Linked DNA regions of Homo sapiens: region 1 is linked to region 2. Evidence: promoter capture Hi-C in human tissues and cell types (Jung and others, 2019). All regions are on one chromosome and are shown on one strand. The core of a region is centred on a gene start or on the middle of the fragment in contact, and the rest is flanking DNA. Distances in the headings are between cores, read along the strand shown.

Region 1 (6,228 bases), core at 2,602-5,101, 750 kb before region 2:
CAAGCCCGGCCCGCCCGCACCTGCCGCCCGCGCCGCCGCCCACCGGCCCCGCGAGACCCACTCACCGCGCGGGCCGGGCTGGCCGAGCCACGGGCCGGACACCGGGGCCGGGGCCTGCGGGCCGGCGGCGGACCCCGCGCTACACAAAGTGACGGCCCGGGAGCTGCGCGACGGCGGCGCGTGGGCACCGGAAGTACCGCCGGCCGGCCCCGCCCCGCCCGCGCCCGCGGGGGGAGGAACTTCCGGTCACGCGGGGGCAGCGGCGCGGAGCGGGGAAGCGCGGGTTGCGGGGGTTTGCCCAGCTGGGCCTCGGGCCGGGGCGAGGACGGGGCATGCGGGGAGGGGACGGGAGCGCCCTCGACACTCGTGGGGCGCCCACAACCTCGCCCCGCTCCTGGACACCCTGGCCAGGTCTCGGAGGTGACCCCGAGGTCCCGCCGCTGCGACCACCGCCTTCCCCGAACCCCAGCCCGGCCTCGTTCATCGGGGCGCCCGCTGAGGACCAGGCCCCGCGCTGGGCCCCCTCCGCCAGTCCACGGAGCCTGCCCGGGACCCCAGGATGGTGGAGGGAGGAGGCGACCCCTGTGGTGGGGAGGGGGCCAGGTGTCCACGCCTCCACCAGATCCCCGGGCCCGCGCGGGGTGAACGTCTTGTGGGTGGGGAGGGAGGAGGGACGGGCGGGGTGAACGTCTTATGGGTGGACTGTGGCGGTTGAGTGCAGGAGGAGACTGGGGTTGTGGAGCCCGCACTTGGAGGGACATGGGGTCACGGGCAGGGAAGCGATGTCCAGGCAGAGGGCATGGCCAGTGTGGGGGCAGAAGTGACAGGCGACCCCAGGAACCCAGGGAGGGGTCGGTGAGCTCAGCGGCCACCCCCAGACCCCCACCCACAAGCCTGTCTGCACCTGCTCCCAAGAGGTGCAGCTGGGGTGTCAGGATGAGCTCTGGCATTGGTGGAGTCCAGGGTCTGTCTTCCGCCTGGAATGGTGTGGCCTGGGCCCCTTCCCCAGCTCCCAGCCCGCCTGCACCACTGTTCTTGGTGCTTTTCTGTGGGGACCCCAGGCCTGACTGGGCAAGAGATAGAGGAGGACTCGGCCAGGCACGGTGTCTGTAATCCTAGCACTTTGGGAGGTCTTGGCGGGCGGATCACGAGGTCAGGAGTTCGAGACTAGCTTGGCTAACATGGTGGGTGAAACCCCATCTCTACTAAAAATACAAAAATTAGCCGGCCGTGGTAGCGCACCCCTGTAGTCCCAGCTGCTTGGGAGGCTGAGGCAGGAGAATCGTTTGAAGCCGGGAGGCAGAGGGTGCAGTGAGCCGAGATCACACCACTGCACGCCAGCCTGGGCGACAAGGTGAGACTCTGTCTCAAAATAATAATAAGATAGAGGAGGACTCAAACCTTAGTCCCACAGAGGGGTGCAGCCCCAACCCCTTGAATCAGACCCTCACAGTGATGTCGCTTGGCTCTTGGTGTCTTAAAATGTCTTAAAGTTAATAACATTTTAAAATAAGGAGTCCCATTCTTGTTTAAAAAATAAAATTGAAAAATCAGGTTCTAATGCGGGGTCTCACACCTATAAATTAAGCACTCTGGGGGGCCGAGGCGGGTCACACCTGTAATCCCAGCACTTTGGGAAAACAAGGTGGGAGGATTGCTTGAGCCCAGGAGGTTGAGGCTGCAGTGAGCTATGATAGCACCACTCCACTCCAGCCTGGGCAACAGATTGAAACCCTGTCTCTAATAATAAATAAAATCTGAAAAATCAGAAGTTCTGGCAACACAAGGCCCCTGGTTTGCAGGGCACCAGCCAGTAGGGCCTGAGAAGTAACCAGCTTCTGTGGGTGGGACTGAGCGTGGCCATGGTCCTCAGTGCCCACCACTCCCTGTCCCTTTCCTCCAGGCCCACATCTGAATGACACTGCCTGACTCTCCTGTGGGTATCTTTTAGAACCCCTAATCCCTAGATTAGACCCTTCCCCACCCTACCTGATCCGTCAGGTTCAGTAGGAAGGTGCAATTGCCCCCAGGCACTCCCAGGAAGGGCTCTGACTGTAGGACAATTAACAATTGACCAAAAGCAGTGTCACCAGGTGATGTGGTTTGGCTGTGTCCCCACTGAAATCTCGTCTTGAATTGTAGTTCTCATGATCCCCACATGTTGTGGAAGGGACCCGGTGGGAGGTAATTAAATCATGGGGGCAGTTCGCCTCATGCTGTTCTCATGTTAGTGAGTTCTCATGAGATCTGATGGTTTTGTAAGGGGCTTTTCCCCTTTGCTCCACACTTCTCCTTCCTGCCATCATGTGAAGAAGGAAGTGTTTGCTTCCCCTTCCACCATGATTGTAAATTTCCTGAGGCCTCCCCAGTCATGCGGAACTGTGAGTCAGTTTTTGGTGGTGGTGGTGGTTGGTGGTGGTTGGTGGTGGTGGTGGTGGTTTGTTTTGTTTTTGTTTTTTTCTTGAGATGGAGTCTCGCACTCTGTTGCCCAAGCTGGAGTGCAGTGGCACAATCTCTGCTCACTGCAACGTCAACCTCCCAGGTTCAAGTGATTCTCCTGCCTCAGCCTCCCAAGTAGCTGGGATTACAGGTGTGCACTACCACGCCTGGCTAATTTTTGTATTTTTAGTTGAGATGGGGTTTCACCGTGTTGGTCAGGCTGGTCTCGAACTCCTGACCTCGTGATCCGCCCGCCTCGGCCTCCCAAAGTGCTGGGATTACAGGCAAGAGCCACTGTGAGTTAAACCTCTTTCCTTTTATAAGTTTCCCGGTCTTGGGCAGTTCTTTACAGCAGCATGAAAATGGACTAATACACCAGGTAAAGGGAAGCAGCTGGAATGTGAAGGCACCAGGCCTTTGCCACCCTTAGCCCTGCAGGAGCAGGAAAGGGCAGGATGTTGTCAAGCCTGGAGGGAGGTGGAGATATAAAGATGGGGACACTGTGGGCACTGTGATTATAGAGGGACAGTGTGGCAAGGAGAGAGTACCCCAACCCTGCCCTCCTGCACCCTGTCACTTCCCAGTGCTGCCCGTTGCCCAAAACCACCTGTAATGTGGACAGCAAGGGACCCCAGAAGAGGAGTGTGTATAATAGAGTCAGCAGCTCCATCCCGGCCTTAGATCCCTCCACCCTGTCAGGCAGGGACCCCGAATCACCCCAGCATCTCCTCAGATCTCCTCTTGGCCTGTCCTCACCTGATACCTAATCCAAGACTCAATTTCTTCCTCTCCCTCGTCCACAGATAATTTTCCTTTTCCTTTTCCTTTTCCTTTCCTTTCTTTCCTTCTTTCTTTCCCTTCCTTCCTTTCTTCCTTCCCTTTTCTTCCTTTCCCTTTCCTTTTTAGGAAAGGAAAGGGCGTGAGCCACCTCACCGGGCCCTACGAGTGAGTTTTGCTTCTTGCTCCAACAGCACTGCTGAGGGGCTGAGGAGACGGAGAGGAGACGAAGGAAGCTGGTGGGACTTATGTGTCCTTGGCCTTAGGGAGATGCTAGACCAGGCCTGGGCCACCTGAGGATGCCTCTGACCTGGGGACAATTGGTTGTCATAAACTGTAGTTTAGTTGGACCTTCTTGTCACTCACTACTGAACTCAGTCTTGATAGATTTCCCTAGACTCATTTGAAGAAGGAAGTAATTAAAAAGCAGGCCAGGATTGGCCCATGCCTGTAGTCCCAGCACTTTGGAAGGCTGAGGCAGGAGGAAAGCTTAAGGCCAGGAGTTTGAGAGCAGCCTGGGCAACATAGCAAGACCCTGTCGCTACACAACATTTTTAAAAATTAGCTGGGTGCAGTGGCTCACGCCTGGAATCCCAGCACTTTGGGAGGCCGAAGCAGGAAGATAGCTTGAGCCCAGGAGTTCAAGACCAGCCTGGGCAACATAGTGAAACCTTGACTCTACTAAAAATTTAAAAATTAGTTGGGTGTGGTGGTGCATGCCTGTAGTCCCAGCTACTCAGGAGGCTGTGGTGAGAGGATTGCTTGAGCCCAAGAGGTTGAGGCTGCAATGAACTATGTTCACACCACTGCACTCCAGCCTGGGTGACAGAGGAAAACTCTGTCTCAAAAATAAAATAAAATAGGCCAGGCACGGTGGCTCATGCCTGTAATCCCAGCACTTTGGGAGGCTGAGGCAGATGGATCACGAGATCAGGAGATCGAGACCATCCTGGCTAACACGGTGAAAACCCGTCTGTACTGAAAATACAAAAAATTAGCCGGGCATGGTGGTGGGCACCTGGAGTCCCAGCTACTGGGGAGGCTGAGGCAGGAGAATGGCGTGAACCTGGGAGGCGGAGCTTGCAGTGAGCCGAGATTGTGCCATTGCACTCCAGCCTGGGCGACACAGCAAAATTCTGTCTCAAAAAAATAATAATAAAATAAAATAAAATAGCTGGGTGCAGTGGCTCACACCTGTAATCCCAGCACTTTGGGAGGCCGAGGCAGGTGGATCACCTAAGGTCAGGAGTTCAAGTCCAGCCTAGCTAACATGGTGAAACCCTGTTGCTACTAAAAATACAAAAATTAGGGGCCAGGCACAGTGGCTCACACCTGTAATCCCAGCACTTGGGGAGGCCAAGGTGGGCGGATCATCTGAGGTCAGGATTTCAAGACCAGCCTGGCCAACATGGAGAAACCCTGTCTCTACTAAAAATATAAAATTAGCCAGGTGTGGTGGCACACACCTGTAATCCCAGCTACTCGGGAGGCTGAGGCAGGAGAATCGCTTGAACCCGGGAGGCAGAGGTTGCAGTGAGCCGAGATTGTGTCATTACACTCCAGCCTGAGTGACAGAGTGAGACTCCATCTCAAAAATTAAATAATGTGGGGCGCAGTAGCTCATGCCTGTAATCCCAGCACTTTGGGAGGCCAAGGCCGGTGGATCACCTGAGGTCAGGAGTTGAAAACCAGCCTGACCAACATGGTGAAACCCCGTCTCTACTAAAAAAAAAATACAAAAATTTAGCTGGGCGTGGTGGTGGGTGCCTGTAATCCCAGCTACTCAGGAGACTGAGGCAGGAGAATCGCTTGAACCCGGGAGGCGGAGGTTGCAGTGAGCCGAGATCGCGCCCCTGCACTCCAGTATGGGCGACAGAGTGAGACTCCGTCTCAAAAAAAAAAAAAAGTAAATCATACCCTTTTTGCACTAGTACAATTCCATGTCAGTCATCTATCTATGAGCAGTTGGTGGGGTTGGGGCTGGGGGAATATCCAAGCATACTCATGAAACAGTTCCTGGGGTGTCATCTGCCTGGCTCCTGCCCATCCTCCACGGTGGGTGCTGGCAGTGAGGAGGGTGCCAGCCCACCCAGTGATTGGCATGAAGCTTGTTCTATGCTTCAGCCTTCGTGTGTCTCACTGGCAGGGACACAGGGTATGTGAAAAGTTAACAGGCATCTGGGGCATTTGGAATTCTGTGAGGCCGAGAGCATCTCCGTTCAAGTACATGGGCCTGCCCCGTATCTGCACAGACCCACCTGCAGGGACTGAACATTGACTGGGCAGAGCTCCCCTTCACTCGGCTCTCGGGACTTCCTCAGCTGTCTCTTCCTGCAGGAAGCCCTCCTGGGCTCCTCCTGAGCTCTCACACCAGGGGCTGGCAGGGAGCCTGGCACAGAAGGATGCTGATGGATGCCCCCACGGAGCCTCTGTGTGCCTGGAGTGGGCTGAAGGCAGTAGTGCTGCTATTAAAACCATAGGTGAGGCTGGGAGCGGTGACTCATGTTTCGTGTTAGTCGGTTCTCCTATTGCTATAAAGAACTGCCAGAGACTAGGTAATTTAAGAAAAGAGGTTTCACTGGCTCATGTCTCTGCAGCCTATACAGAAAGCATGGCTGGGGAGGCCTCAGGAAACGTACAGTCATGGCAAAAGGTGAAGGGGGAGCCAGCACTTCAAATGGTGGCAGCAGGAGGAATGAGAGAGAAGGGAGGGGTGCCACACACTTGTAAACAACTAGATCTCACAAGAACTCACTGTCGTGGTGACAGCTCCAGGGGGAATGGTATCAAACCATGAGAAATTGCCCCCATAATCCAATCATCTCCCACCAGGCCCCACCTCTAACACTGGGGATTACAGTTGAACTTGAGAGGCCAGGAATGGTGGCTCAGGCCTGTAATCTCGGTACTTTGGGAGGCCAAAGTGGGTGGATCACCTGAGGTCAGGAGTTTGAGTCCAGCCTGGCGAACCTGGTGAAACCCCGTCTCTACTAAAAATACAAAAATTAGCTA
Region 2 (5,942 bases), core at 3,443-5,942:
GAATTAGAACTTGTCAAGCCTATCATTTCTCCCTGATAATGCATGAATTCAGTGGAATTACCTGTGACCATCTGTGAACATTTAACTTTTTGTCTGGTCAATTTCAGACAGGAAGGGGAGATTTTCTTTCTCTATTCCGTAGCTGGGTATTGCATTTTTAGGATATATTTGATAGGGTGGGACTTTGAACTGACTTTCCTCCATTGAACCAAACTCCAAACGTTTCTGTTACTAAAAGAAGGATAATAGTAATAATAACAAGGTATGGATGTTACAGATTGATATAAAAAACTGGGGACTTGCTTTATATTTATTGGTAAGCTTTGTTTATTTGGAAATCCTTCATGGTTATGTTTTTTTTTTTCTTTTGAGATAGAGTTTCACTCTTGTTGCCCAGGCTGGAGTGCAATGGTGCCATCTTGGCTCCCTGCAACCTCTGCCTCCCAGGTTCAAGCGATTCTCCTGCCTCAGCTTCCCGAGTAGTTGGGATTACAGGTGCCCACCACCATGACCGGCTAATTTTTTATATTTTCAATAGAGATGGGGTTCACCATGTTGGTCAGTCTAGTCTTGAACTCCCGACTTCAGGGGATCTGCCCACCTTGGCCTCCAAAATTGCTGGGATTATAGGCCTGAGCCACCACGCCCAGCCCCTGGTTATGTTTAAATAAGGCAATCCCCCCTTACCTAATCTGTTTTTATGAGCTATCTATCTGCATTAACTCCCATGTAGTAAGCGATAGTGGTATAATTTTGAACAGGTTTTTTTTTTTTTAATAAGCATCTAACGTAGCAGTTTTAAATTTCAAATTAGCACCACCAGAAGGACCATCATATGTTCTGCTGAGTTGGCAGGCACAAAGCAGTTAAAAAGCACGCTAGCAACATGACAAAATCAAGTGAAAATAGTCCTACAGCTGTGCTAGTGTATTCTAAAGCTCAAACCTAGGATTCGGCCTATGGAAGACTCAATAAATGAGGTTGGCTTATTTGTTCTCTGTTTAATATTATCCCCTTGGCGGGCTAATGTCCAATAAAATATATTTGTCTAAACCCTTGAAGACGAAGAGGGCTTCCTACGCATGCCAATGGACCCTGGTCTGAGGATGTAAATCTTTCCCTTATTCTGAGGGGTTCAAACCCCACTGGTAGAAATACCTCGCGCTTTATGCAGGTGCATTATGGTTGGCAGGTGCAAATAATTGGCCAGGTGGCTAGCTAGTCCCCTAGTCAGGTGAAGGATATTTTGCAGCTCATAGACAATGACCAGTGTGACCAGCTTCTATAGTACCTACCGAGCATTATGCCAGGGTTTTTACACACATCATTTGCATCCTTACTTTAGTCCCATTTTACAGATGAGAAGACTGAGGCTCGGTAAGTTTAAGAAAGGGAGATTTTAAGCCACATTGGTTTGATCTCACAGCCCAAGCCCTCACGGATGCTTCCTGAGCTAGAGTGTTTTATGCTACGTACACGTGTGGACATACCCTCTGCTCCAATTTTCCCATCTCCATCATTATCCGCCGCAGCCATCAAGGACTTGGTTTCTGACTCGGTCAGTTCTCTGGCACCACTCTCAAACTTCTGGAGGAAAAACCTACAGGATAATAAAGATCCATGGGGATTTTCAAAAAGATCATGCATCTCTGTGTTTACACTTTTGTTTTTCCTCTAAGCATATCACCTGTTTCCAGCACCGGCAATAATTAACCAAGGTCTTAGCAAGCAAAGGTTTCCTTAAGCTGTAGAAACCAATGGTGGGCACTTCATTTTTAAGGTTTTGTTTGTTTGTTTGTTTTTGAGACAGGGTCTTGCTCTGTCACCCAGGCTGGAATGCAGTGATACCATCATGGCTCACTGCAGCCTCGACTTCCTGGGCTCAATCAATCCTCCTGCCTCAACCTCCTGAGTAGCTGGGACTACAGGTGCACCCCACCATGCCCCACTAACATTTGTATTTTTTTTTGTAGAGACAAGGTTTTGTCATGTTCCCCAGACTGGTCTGGAACCCCTGGGCTCACTCAAGCAATCCACCCACCTCAGCCTCCCAAAGGGCTGGGATTGTAGGTGTGAGCCACAGTGCCTGGCCCATTTTTAAGTTTTTAGTGTTTTTAATTTTTATTTATTTATTTATTTGAGACAGAGTCTCTCTCTGTCACCCAGGCTGGAGTGCAGCTGCACGATCTGGGCTCACTGCAACCTCTGCCTCCTGACTTCAAGCAATTCTTGTGCTTCAGTCTTCTGAGTAGCTGGAATTACAGGCGTGAGCCACTGCGCTTAGCCAAGTTTTTAGTTTTTTAAAGTCCATTTGCCAAAGGAAATCCCTTACATGAAAGAATCTTTGTGGCTGGGCACAGTGACTCACACCTGTAATCCCAGCACTTTGGGAGGCCAAGGCAGGAGGATCACTTGAAGTCAGGAGTTTGAGACCAGCCTGGCAACATAGTGAAGCCCCATCTCTACTCTAAATATGAAAATGAGCTGGATGTGGTGGCAGGCACCTGTAATCCCAGCCACTTGGGAGACTGAGGCATGAGAATCACTTGAATTTGGAAGGCGGAGGCTGCAGGGAGCTGAGATCACCCCACTGCACTCCAGCCTGGGCAACAGAGTGAGGCCCTGTCTCAAAAAAAAAAAAAAAAAAAAGAATCTTTGCACCTGCAGTCTTCTCTGCCCATATTGAGGGCTTTGCATGGGTAGATGTGCGGTCAACTGACTCATGTCCTTTGCTTTAATGATGCTTGGCCGAATGACCAACACCAAGGCTGGCCATTGAAGAAATACTGAGCAACCTGGCCCCCACTGCACCCCAGGCCCACTCAGCAGTGCCGGGTACCAGACAGACTCAGGACAAAGCTTACTTAAGCTCTTCTTCATCCAGGTACCCGCTCTGGTCGTTGTCTATGAACCGGAAAACATCCTTCACCTGATTGGCTGACATCTTGGAGAGGCCTGATGTCTGGAAGAATTTTTGGGGTTCAAAAGTGTCTGGGTCTGAAGAACAGAGAATTGGTTATTCTGACGCTTGTTGGATCACATTCTATGTTGGGGCCAAGGTACTAAAAACACAGATAATTAAAAACACTTCAACAATATCCCTGAGCTACGGGGATGCTCAACTGGTCCAAGATTTTGGGACAGCCAAGACTTGATGGCTCTGTGATGGCATCCCATGTCCCCTCCGCCCCAGTCTTCCCTCCTCCACTTGGTTTTGTCCATTTTCCTTTTCCCTCCTCATCTCTTCTGTGCCTCCCCCTCCCCCTGGCCCACTTTACAGGCTGTGTGGCTGAGCCCCCAGCATCCCTGGTCTAATTGGTAGGGGGAAATGCAATCACTGGATTTCAACAGGCTAAATGGCCTTTGGCGCTTTTTTTTTTTTTTTTTTTTTTTTTTTTTTTTTTGAGACAGAGTCTCACTCTGTCACCAGGCTGGAGTGCAGTGGCGTGATCTCGGCTCACTGCAACCTCTGCCTCCCGGGTTCAACTGATTCTCCTGCTTCAGCCTCCCAAGTAGCTGAGATTACAGGTGTGCACCCCCATGCCCAGCTCATTTTTGTATTTTTAATAGAGACAGGGTTTTGCCATGCTGGCCAGGTTGGTCTTGAACTCCTGACCTCAAGTGATGCACCGGCCTCGGCCTCCCAAAGTGTTGGGATTACAGGTGTGAGCACGACACCTGGCCTTTCAGTGATGTCTTGCTTTCATGTTTAGTAGGTTTCTTTTGTCTTACAGATGTGTAATCGTGTGCTCAGATCCCAGATCTCTATAATTTTAGTTATCTAATAAATAGCAGTTTTCTTCTCTGATTCCATGAATTTTCCAGCCAACCTCTTATTTATTTATTTATTTATTTATTTAGAGCCAGAGTCTCACTCTGTCGTCCAAGCTGGAGTGCAGTGTAGCGATCATAGCTCACCACAGCCTCAACCTCCTGGGCTTCAGTGATCCTCCTACCTTAGTTTCCAGAGTAGCTGGGACCACAGGCACATGCCACCATGCCCCGCTAGTTTTTATTTTTATTGTTATGTTGTAGAGATGGAGTCTTCCTATGTTGCCCAGGCTGGTCTCAAACTCCTGGGCTCAAACAGTCCTCTCACCTTGGCCTCCAAAAAGTGTTGGGATTACAGATGTGAGCCACCATGCCTGGTCTACTTTTTTTTTTTTTTTTTGTAGACAGAGTCTTGCTCTGTTGCCCAGGCTGGAGTGCAGTGGCATGATCTCAGCTCACTGCAACTTCTGCCTCCCGGGTTCAAGCAATTCTCTGCCTCAGCCTCCCGAGTAGCTGGGATTACAGGCACCCACCACCACGCCCGGTTAATTTTTTTGTATTTTTAGTAGAGATGGGGTTTCACCATCTTGGCCAGGCTGGTCTCGAACTCCTGACCTCGTGATCCACCCGCCTCGGCCTCCCAAAGTGCTGGGATTACAGGTGTGAGCCACTGCGTCTGGCCGCCTGGCCTACATTTTGATTTTGTGTTGACTCGCTGGAGGTGCAAAGCTGTGAGGAAATCCCACCCCCGCCTCACGTCCCCTCTACCTCGGCATTCCTGGAGCGCTGCTGCAATGTCGTCAGCACTGAGCACGTCCGTGATGCTCATTTTCTACCTACTCACACAGAATAAATGAGAGGCGATAAGCCACAAACAGGAATGTGCACATCCAGGGGAAACACATCTTCCCAGGCCCACTGAAACTGTATGTGTGTCTAGATTATTTTTTTTTTTAAATTAAGACGGAGTCTCACTCTGTCACCCAGGCTGGAGTGCAAGAGCGTGATCTCGGCTCACCGCAACCTCCGCCTCCTGGGCTCAAGTGATTCTCCTGCCTAAGCCTTCCCAGTAGCTGGGATTACAGGTGCGCACTACCATGCCTGGCTAATTTTTGTGTTTTTAGTAGAGACGGGGTTTTGCCATGTTGGCCAGGCTGGTCTTGAGCTCCTGACCTCAGGTGATCTGCCTGCCTTGGCCTCACAAAGTGCTGGGATGACAGATGCAAGCCACCGAGCCAGGCCTGTCTAGAATTTTTAAAATGTGATAAGCATGGTTTTGTATTAAGTGACGGGACAGAATATCCAAATTAAAACCAGATACGGAAAACACCCCAGCCTTTTTTGTCTCAGAGCCTTCTTTTGAATACATGCCAAAAATGGAAAAAAAAAATGACCCAAAGAAGGATTCAATTGTTTTCTTATAAAAATTATACTGACATAATCAGTCATTTGCATAGGCAGCCGTAAACCATGTTACACATGCACTGGCATTTTCCTACAGCAGCCCGAGAGATGCAATGTTGCAAATTCCACGTGGGAAAGGATACAGTTTGGGCTGCTTGCAGACATTCTGTGGAAGAAGGCATGCACCTGTCCTGAAAGGTGGGAAGCAGATGGATGAAAAGCCCATCTCCCAGAGATTAAAATCCTTCCAGGTGTCAGAGCCACCGGAAAACAGGAGTCTAAGCACCTGAGCCTAATATGAATGCATGCAGTGAAGAAAAGAGTCTGGGGTCTGATGTGTCCACCAGTTACTCACCGTTTTCGGTTTCCCCCCAGGAAGAATCAGGAAAAAGAGTTGAAGGAGCAAAACAACAGATGTGTTTTTGCTACCTTACTGACCTACCTTATATAGGCTAGAAAAAGTGATAGTTACAACCTCTTAGATTTCCTTTTCAAGGATCAAGTGGATGCAGCTCAAATGTCTTGTCTTACTCATGAAACCTCTTTTTTTTTTTTTTTCTATTTATGTCTCAAGGGAATGTGGGTGGGAACAGCCAATTGTAAAAAAAAAAAAAAAACAACAACAAACTTCAACAAACCTTAACTAAGATTTCAATTCTGCAAACGAACCCTGTTGGCAAAGTGTGGAGAAGGTTCTAGATGCCTGGTAAGGTGGAGATGGTGGCCTGAACTAAGACAAACACATACAGGGTGCTCTGTAAGCTGAA

The links. The method cuts DNA at HindIII sites, captures the fragments that hold promoters and counts their contacts. A contact is called where the count stands out against the background at its distance.
Region 1: a contact is called between a fragment that was not itself captured here and the fragment with the promoter of OCM in region 2, in 1 of the 25 tissues and cell types used here (aorta).

What each region holds. Positions count from the first base shown.
Region 1 is chr7:6,631,285-6,637,512 of GRCh38, reverse strand. It overlaps ZNF316 (zinc finger protein 316), which reads right to left and starts at 195. Exons shown (of 9, transcript NM_001278559.2): 1 at 66-195. RefSeq lists a silencer at 96-515. The HindIII fragment of the contact is 5,006 bases long and covers 1,349-6,228 here.
Region 2 is chr7:5,879,548-5,885,489 of GRCh38, reverse strand. OCM (oncomodulin) reads right to left here and starts at 4,692. Exons shown (of 4, transcript NM_001097622.2): 1 at 4,540-4,692; 2 at 2,865-2,997; 3 at 1,491-1,600. The coding sequence starts at 4,600. The HindIII fragment of the contact is 18,194 bases long and covers 1,591-5,942 here.